Linked DNA regions of Homo sapiens: region 2 is linked to region 1. Evidence: promoter capture Hi-C in 16 types of primary human blood cells and fetal thymus (Javierre and others, 2016). All regions are on one chromosome and are shown on one strand. The core of a region is centred on a gene start or on the middle of the fragment in contact, and the rest is flanking DNA. Distances in the headings are between cores, read along the strand shown. Region 1 holds the start of RGR (retinal G protein coupled receptor). Region 2 overlaps CCSER2 (coiled-coil serine rich protein 2).

Region 1 (4,711 bases), core at 1,331-3,830:
AGAGAGGTCTTAGAGAAGGCACTTTCAGGTTTTTTTGGAGACAGGACCCCAACCTCTAATAAGGGCCTTTGGAAATTCTCCATCCATAAAGCTTTGTTTTGCTTTATAGGGACAGGGTTGCTCTGTCACTCAGAGTGGAGTGCAATGGTGTAATCATAGCTCACTGTAGCCCCGAACTCCTGAGCTCAAGCCATCCTCCTGCCTCAGCCTCGCAAGTAGCTGGAACTGCAGGCAACCACCACCATGTTTGGCTATTTTTAAAAAATTATTTTTTGCAGTCAGGGTCTTGCCATGTTGCCCAGGATGGTCTCAAACTCCTGGCCTCAAGCGATCCTCCTACCTCAGTCTCCCAAAGTGCTGGGATTACAGGCCTGAGCCACTGCACCCAGACTAATTTCAATTTTTACTTATTCTCTCCTAACCCTATCTCGCCCCACCATATCTACTCAAGATGCCAGTGGGGACTGACCAGGGATGATTCCCAGCAGTAGACACTCAGTCGACTCATTCATTCATTCTTCACATTTGACCCTGAGGCATTGTTCTCTGGTCCAGCATGCCCTACCTATGTTGTTTGGCTTTTCTAGAAGGTTCCCCAGTCCTTCATGCCTGTGGCTCCAGGCAGGCCTAGACCAGTGAGGTATGACCTGCAAAGATATCTGGGGCCCCAGTGCACACATAAAATGCCTAGCTCGGAGCCAGGTCTGTTTCAACAATACTGGCTTCTCATTCTTTCCTTCCTTCCAATGCAGCCAGTAGGATTTTCTCAGTGCTTCCCAGCTATACTTCCACCTCCCCAAACCCAGCCGTCAGCTTGCCTGTTCCCACATCTCTGCTTCTTCCTCCTTGTGTCTTTTGCCCAAATGAACTTTACCCTTTAATCTTGGCCTTGCCCTGCTTTATCTCCTCTCATGAAGGCTTTTGTGATCTCGAAGGCATGAAAAAAGGACTGACATATGTATTAACCAACACCATAAGGTAGAAATTGAGACAGAAGGCCAGGCAGGGTGGCTCATGACTGTTATCCCAGCATTTTGGGAGTCCAAGGCCAGCAGATCACCTGAGGTCGGGAGTTCAAGACCAGCCTGACCAACATGGAGAAACCCTGTCTCTAATAAAAATACAAAATTAGCCGAGCATGGTGGCACATGCCTGTAATCCCAGCTACTCGGGAGGCTGAGGCAGGAGAATAGCTTGAACTGGGGAGGTAGAGGTTGCGTGAGCCGAGATTGCGCCATTGCACTCCAGCCTGGGCGACAGAGCGAGACTCCATCTCAAAAACAAACAAAAAAACAAAAAAGAAATTGAGAAAGAACAGGGAACGCTCTGGAGGGCGCAGCCATAAGCTCAGCCCTGCAGAGGGATTAGGCTTGGATGTAAGTGAGGACTCATGAGAGGAAAGGCCTGGGAAGTGGGCATTCCTGGAACAGAGTGGGTTGCTCTACCAGGTGAGTCAGAAGATGCCATTGAAAAATGCCTGAGCCTGAGGAATAGGAGATCGGCTTTTGTTCCAGCTCCATCCATAAATTACTGCATGGCCTCAGGCAGATTCTTAACTGTTTTTAGCCACAGTTTCCTCATCTAAAATGGAAAGGATAATGGTATCTAACTCATGGAGTTGTTGTAGGACTCATCAGAAGATCCCCTAGCACAGGGCCTGACCTCACTCAATATTAGCTATGTTGCTGATAGTGCTCTGGAGCTTGGTTTCTTTATCTGAAAATGAACTAAGTTGTCCTAGATCAGTATTTCCTGGTGTAAATTTTATCATGAGCCAGAGCATAACAGTGCATAAAGAGCCAGTGTATCAAGAAGTCATTTGTAGCAGCCAAAGCTCTTAGTGGGGCCGGCAAGGCTGGGCGGGTTCGGGGTCGGAGACTGACAAGACGGCAGGCAGCCCCTCTGTTCTAAGACAGTGTCCTAGGACATTTTTTATGCTCAGGTGCTCTATGGGAGACAGGAAATGCAGCCCTGAGGTTTATATTCGTGATATCTAACCAGGACTTATATAAAGGCCACAGACAAAAGACATTGACATTGCAGAAAAGTAAACGGAAGAGTCCAGTGGTCCCACTCCAAGGCGCATAACTAGTTAGTGGCAGATTCAGAACCAGAACCCCAACCCCATTTTCTGGTCCCAGATGGGGTTCTTCCTCTGACAGCAGGCGACTTCCCAAGCCTCATCCTTTCCCCAGCGCTTTGGAGTATACTCATGTGAGCCTGAGGACACACACACAGGCACCAGGCTTGTTGGGAACAGCTGCGGCTCAAATCCCTCCTCCTGCTCCCCTCCCCTGGTTATGCAACTCTTTTCCAATTAGGCTCTCAGCCACACACCATTTGGATTCCCCGACCTTAATCCTGTGCAATGGGGCTGAAATGAATGAGACAGGGCTCCATTCTGGCTTCACAAAGGCTGCATTGTCCAACTCGTGAATGGGTTCCTTCTGCTTGGGCCAAGAGGACCATTTGCAGCGGGGAGGCATCCAGAAACAGCCCAAGGTCCAACATAATAACCTGCATGTGCCTCCACGCACATGGGATGGCCCTTTAAAAGGGAGGGCCTGGCTGTGGGAAGCCAGAGACAGCTGGGCCACTGGCAGTGAGGGAGAGTGAGGATGGCAGAGACCAGTGCCCTGCCCACTGGCTTCGGGGAGCTCGAGGTGCTGGCTGTGGGGATGGTGCTACTGGTGGAAGGTGAGCCAGGCAGAACCTGGGGTGCAGCGGGGGCCCAGTGGGTTCTGAGGACCCAGGCCACCAGTGTGGAGCTGGCAAGGAGAGGAGAGGTCCCCAAACCCAGCTGGGTGTCCGGTCCCATTGGCTGCCTTCCCCTCTGTGCCCGGACTCGGGGGGTGTTCTGACAATTGAACCTGTGAGGTGCAGCACACTGCCCGCTGGGAGCAGAGAGGAAGCCAGGCAAGGGTCAGGGAGGGAGGGACTTTGAAAGGGGACATCTGCCCAGGAGATGATCAAGAGCCAGGCTTTAGGACTTTTCATGTCCCTCCAGCCGGGAGAAAATTTAATCCACTCCTTGGAAATCCTGCTGAGAATCCCACATAAGATCAGTCCCCCAAAAGGCTCTGGGGACAGACAGCTCTGCCTCCTGCTCTTGTGTGGCTGGAACCAAGTCCCTTCAGCTCTCTGCCCTCAATGCCTTGACATTCCGAATGGGTGGTTGTAAAGATTAAATGGGATAATGGGTATAAAGTGCTAGCCTAAATAGACTCTAGGGTATTTAAGTTCATTCACTCCCATCCTCTCCAGCCCCACCACTATTTTCACTGTGTCTACTCCTATGAGCCCAAGCACTTCACCTCTGGAGGCAACCTGGGTCTGCGAGGTACCTACCTCAACCTAGAATCCCTAAGATGCTCGCTGAGGCCAGAGCTAGAGACAGTGTCAATCCTGAATCTGGGCCAGCCCAAGCTAAATTGATGGAGAACGCAGCTTTGGTTCAAAGCAGACCCAGAGAAATCATCAGCACGTTTTCTCACCTAATGAGAACTGACAATGGAGAGGAAGTGACAGTCATTAGATTGGTCCTGAAGGCTCTGGACACGACTGTCTGGTGGCCCCAGCCCGTGTCTCCCTTTCCTGAGAACCCTACAATCTAGCATCCTTCCAGGTCCTCAAACATGCCATAAAATTTTACCACTTTATTTTTTGGAAGGGGTTTAAATTTACATTTTTATTTCATGTTTAATGACTAGAAATGTCATTATATACACAATGCTTTGGTTTTTATTTTATTTAAAATATGTTTTAAATTTCAATAGCTTTGGGGATACAAGTGATTTTTGTTTACATAGATGAATTACATCGTGGCAAATGCTAGGACTTTAGTGCACTCATCACCCAAGTAGCGTACATTGTGCCTCATTTGTAGGTTTTTTTAATCCCACTCCCTCTCCCACCCTTCCCCTTCTGAGTCTCCAGAGTCCATTGTGTCCTCTGAATGCCTTTGCGTACTCACGGTTTAGCTCCCACTTGTAACTGAGAACAAACAGCATTTGGTTTTCCATTCCTGAGTTACTTCACTTACAATAATGGCCTCCAGCTCCATCCAAATTGCTGTAATAAGACATTATTTCATTCCTTTTTACAGCTATTATTCCATGATGTATATATACTACATTTTCTTTATCCATTCATTGGTCAGTGGGCACTTACATTGATTTCGTATCTTTGCAATTGTGAATTGTGCCTCGGTAAGCATAGATGTGCATGTGTGTTTTTGGCTGGATTAAATGGCAGATCTACTTTTAGTTATTTAAGGAATCTCTATACTGTTTTCCATAGAGGTTGTATTAATTTACATATTCCCACCAGCAGTGCATAAGCATTCCCTTTTTACCACATCCATGGCATTGATCTATTGTTTTTTGACTTTTTAATGATGGTCATTCTTATAGGAGTAAGGTGGTATCTCATTGTACCATAGCATGTCTTTGCACATGCTATTCCCTCCTGGAATGCTCTTCCATGCACTGTCCTGCAGGTAAGTGCTTCTCATAGTTTTGAAGGCAGGATTTTTTCCTGTTCCTCACTTTAGATAGGGGAAGCTGAGGTTCAGAGAGCTTAAGGAGCAGCAAGCGAGGCAACCAAGCCAAAATTCAAGGTCGGGTCTCTCTGTTGCCAGAGTACGCCCCCTTCATGTTCACTTCCATGCCTGGCGTCCTGGGCAGCTCCCAGCTCTAACATCGACTCTTCT
Region 2 (4,711 bases), core at 833-3,332, 150 kb after region 1:
CCATGATTGCGCCACTGCACTCCAGCCTGGGTGACAGAGTGAGACCCTGTCTTAAAAAAAAAAAAAAAAAAAGAACAGAGTGTAATATGTTCCTTTTACCTAGCATAGTACCTGGCATAGAGTAGATGTATAATGGGTAATATTTTTGGAGAAAATATTGAATTCTGCAATTTGGATCAAGTAGCTATTATAAAATTGTTATAGTTAATGAGGACACTGAAGCTAAGAGTCTTTCACTAATTGAATGAATTTTAGGAGTTGTTGAAGTTGCTATTCTGGCCTGAATAAGTAATTAAATATTTTTCAATTTAGGTTATTTGGTTTTATTGTCCCGTGGTGATTATAAGTATTGCTTTCAGGCTCTTCAACTTCTAGTGGCATTTGTGTGGTACTTCCGCAATCTTTTATCCCTTTCCTGGTCCTGGGAGTCAGGCAACCTGTATTAGCAGAAGCTGCCAGCTTGGTAGCTTAAGTTGGGTTGCATGGAGACACAGATAGGAAAGTTGGTCTGTGGAACCTCTTTCTACCTTTTAGTACATGGTGAAGGAGAAAATAGCATGATAACATTAGACCAACCATTGGGAAACCCAGATTTCAGCCGTAGCTGAATAAGTAGTGTCTCATATGACCACAAAATATTCCAGGCTTATCTTGTATTTTCCCTGCCCTAGCCCTTGAGTCATTATGTCTCCAAGGAAGATTTTTATTGGAGAATGAGATTTAGAAACCAAGATCTGGGGCCTAGGTGTGTTCGTTGCTACTGAGGTGTAATTACTTTTAGTTATTGTGGCAGACAGAACTGACAATTATATGTATACACACACACTTCTCTTCTATATTTATTTCTGTATCCATTTCCGTATATATTAAAGACCAAGAGCTCACACGGATACCTTTGACTCCAATCAAATGCCACAGAATTTGTTCTAGCCTTTCTTCTTATTTTTAAGCCTTTTCTCAGAAAGTGAGAAACTTGGTTTCTCAACCACAATATATTTTCTTAGTTATTCAACACTGTGTGTGTGTGTGTGTGTGTGTGTGTGTGTGTGTATAAGGATTATAGTATATATTCATACATAGTTATAGATATAGTATATATAGTATATTATATACCATAACTATACTATATTTATACTATATTATATACACACAGTTTCAGAATTGCTAACTTACACCCTATGAAAAAGATTTACTAACTTACAATATTTGTTTAGCATTTTTTTTTTAAACCTTAACCTTACAGAATACAATAAGTACTGTTTTCCAAGTTTACTTACGTTAGTTGTTTTAGTTCTCAATCCTTTCAGCGTGATTGTATTATTCATTTGTAATACTTTTAGGTTCATTTGTTGCTGTTTGTATTTCGTTTTGGGTTCTGCCCACATCGTGGTTTATTTAAAGTACTCATTTATTTCATGTTACTTCATAGAGATCTTCCCTTTTCTTCTTTTTAAAAAAATATTTTATTTTTAAATTTTAACCTATGTATGTATTTGTTTGTTTATTTTGAGACTGGGTTATGAGACTGGCTAATTTTTGTATTTTTGGTAGAGATGGGGTTTCACCATGTTGCCAAGGCTGGTCTTGAACTCCTGGGCTTAAGTGATCGACCCGTCTTGGCCTTCCAAAGTGTCGGGATTACAGGCGTGAGCCACCACACCTGGCCGAGATCATCCTTATTCTTTTTGTACCGCTGTATACTACTTATTTTGTAGATTGTGCATTGTTTATTCAATTACTCTCCCAACAATGGGCATCAAGATTGTTTCCAATATTTTACAGTTATAAACTGCCGTAATGACTATGCTAGTATAGAGCAGTATTATTTTTGTAATTTAGATAAAAAAACACATCTACCACCTTACTTGTGTCCATACCAGCTCCTATTCAGTTGTGTAGAAACTTCTGCATATAAAAGTGCTAGTCAGTATTACTATATGAAAGTTGCTATGCATGGTATTCTATTTTCCTAGAACATTCCAGTGACTTTCTACTCTTACCTAAAGCTTACTGGTAAATCTTAAGTGCATTGATTAATAAATCTCTGGTATTACCATAATCTACTCATAAAATCATCCTATGATATTTTTATTACCACCTCCCCCAAAGTATAATGTCCTTAAGATATGAAATTCTGCAGTAAAACAGAACAAAAAGAAAAGCTTTTAAAAAATGTTACTGAAACTTCATTTGATGTAATATACAAAAATGTGATGGGGCTGTCCTCAGGTTAAATGGGCACTGATGGATGCACTGTAACTTGACTGGTTTGAGGACAGAAAATTGAACCTAAAATAAGGAAATTCTGACTGCTAAAGGAATTGAGGTCACTCAATACATTCATTTTCTCTCATCTAACAAAAAGACTACACATACCACTAATGCACTTGGCATTTTGATTTATTAAATATATATGTTAACTGAAGTCTGCCACCGACTGTTATAATCAGTATAGCTGAAATTACTCATCTGAAGCCTGTGAAGGCTGAAGTAAAAAAGTAAATTTTAAAAGGCTTAAGTAAAGTCCAGTCAAGCAAAACTTGATTTGAGCTTACTGCTGAGGTCTACAACATATTACATTACTGCAACCATTAGAAGTCCCACCAGTCACACCTGACTCTTCTCCTTTTTCAGGTGCTAATGTGCTTCTGTAGTGGCCTATTTCTGTTTCAGCCTTTGTAAGGCATCACAGAAAGGAAGGAACAAATATTTAAATTATAGAAAGTGAATGCAGTAAGTATAGGATTGACTCTAAAACAGTAGAAACAAATAAGCCTAATTATAGCATTTGAGAAACAGGGTGTATTCGTTTTCTCTGGCTGCTGTGACAAATTACCACAAATACAATGGCTTAAAACAACACACTGTTTGTTATCTTACTATCCTCTCTAGCTTACAAGTCAGACACATGTCTCTGCAGGCTAAAATCAAGATGTCAGCAGGGCTAGGTGCCTTCCTGGAGACTCGAGGGAAGAATCCATTTCCCTGTCTTTTCCACCTTCTAAAAACTGCCTTTGGTTCATGACTTCCTTCCTCTGTCTTCAAACCGAGCAACACCGCACCTCTTTGACCATTCTCCTTCTGTCTGTCTTCTGCCTCCCTCTTCCATTCTGAGTGATTATTATACATTGGGCCCCCTCAGATAATCCAGGATAATACCTCTATTTTAAGGTCAGCTGACTGGCAACCATAATTCCCTCTTTGCTATGTAAGCTATCATATTTACAGGGATTATTCTGCTTATCAGGAAAATTATTTCATTTCTCTGAAACTCCTGTTTTTATTGTAGTAGAATTCTTAAAATATTTTGAGAAGCCATAATTTTAGCATGGAGACACGCCAAAATGAAACAATATTTGTTTGTGCCTTTTGAAAGGAGCTACATGCTTTCCTACTCATTTCTTCCTCTTTATTTCTCAGATTTTGAATTTATTCCTGTTTATTTTTAAAGTTCCTGGGTGTTAAGGTAGGTTTGTTCCAGGGAAGGATAGAGAAAAATCTAAGATCATTTCTTGAGAGCAGAAGAGAAATTTGTAAAGAATTGAGCTATAGCTGAAGTCTACCCTCTTTGGTTAATAATTCACAGGGAATACAATGATGAACAGACTTTTTTTTTTAAAGTAATAATTTTGTTTCATAGGGTATTCTTTGTGAAGAATTTATGTAGACATATTCACAGAGCCTTGTTCTGTTTTCTTGGTCTGGGAACCAGTATATTTTAAGGAAGTTTCTTCTGTACAGTGCCTGTATTCTGGTGATGTTTTGTAAGCTTGTTTAAAGTTGTTCACTCTTACCACATCTGGCCATTTGAGTTTTACAGAGAGTTAGAGTCATGGCCTGAGCCTATTTTCCAGAAAGATTTTTTAAATTTAATTTTTATATATTTTGGGAATACAGATGCAGATTTTTCACATGTGTATATTGTGTAGTGGTGAAATCTAGGCTTTTAGCATACCCATCACCTGAATAATGATCATTGTACCTATTGGTAAATTCTAAGCCCTCACCTCCTTCCCATCCTCCTACCTTTTGTAGTTTCCAGTGTCTGTTATTCCACTCTGTATGTCCAGCTGTACCCATTGTTTAGCTCCCACTTATAAGTGAGAGCATGTGGTATGTGACTTTCTGTTTCTGAGTTATTTCACTTATAATAATACCCTCTAGTTCCATGTTACTGTGAAAGACATGATCTCATTCTTTTTTATGGCTGAGTAATATTCCATGGTGTATGTGTATTTCCCACACTTCCAGAAACAGTTTACCTGAAATCTCTCGGAGTAGGAATTTTTGGGTGTCACAATAAGAGTCGGAGATAGGAACACTGGATTAGAAGTCGGGATGAGTGTTAGTCTGGATTTATTTATTTTCACTAAATATGTTTTGGGTACCTACCAGCTAGTAATTTTAAATAAGATAATGGCATTTTTTTAAACCTTCCTGGAGAATTTGTTCCATTATTCTTTTAAATCTGGAAAATGTTCATATTTAATTATTATATCCCCTCCATTGTTTCTGTGCCCCTTTTCTAGAACTTCTAATAATTGGCTGTTATATCTCTGTTGAGCCTCTTTTTCATTTTCTCTTTGTTTTCATTTATTTTTTAAACCTTTGTTCTTTTACCTTTTTTGGCCTTTTTTTTTTTTTTGAGAGATTTCATAGAGTTTATTTTTAAACCAGGCAATCACTTAACCCTTTATGGAAATTTCAAATA

The links. Contacts are between HindIII fragments. The CHiCAGO score rates a contact against its expected background, and 5 or more counts as called.
Region 2: a fragment that was not itself captured here is called in contact with the fragment with the promoter of RGR in region 1 in 1 of 17 cell types (total CD8 T cells); the score reaches 5.1 in total CD8 T cells.

What each region holds. Positions count from the first base shown.
Region 1 is chr10:84,242,473-84,247,183 of GRCh38, forward strand. It overlaps RGR (retinal G protein coupled receptor), which reads left to right and starts at 2,581. Exons shown (of 7, transcript NM_001012720.2): 1 at 2,581-2,697. The coding sequence starts at 2,619. RefSeq lists an enhancer at 2,727-3,226. The HindIII fragment of the contact is 12,009 bases long and covers 90-4,711 here.
Region 2 is chr10:84,395,171-84,399,881 of GRCh38, forward strand. The region is part of intron 3 of CCSER2 (coiled-coil serine rich protein 2); the gene reads left to right. Among named protein-coding and RNA genes, the nearest start is that of CCSER2, 69 kb to the left of the region's middle. The HindIII fragment of the contact is 156 bases long and covers 2,005-2,160 here.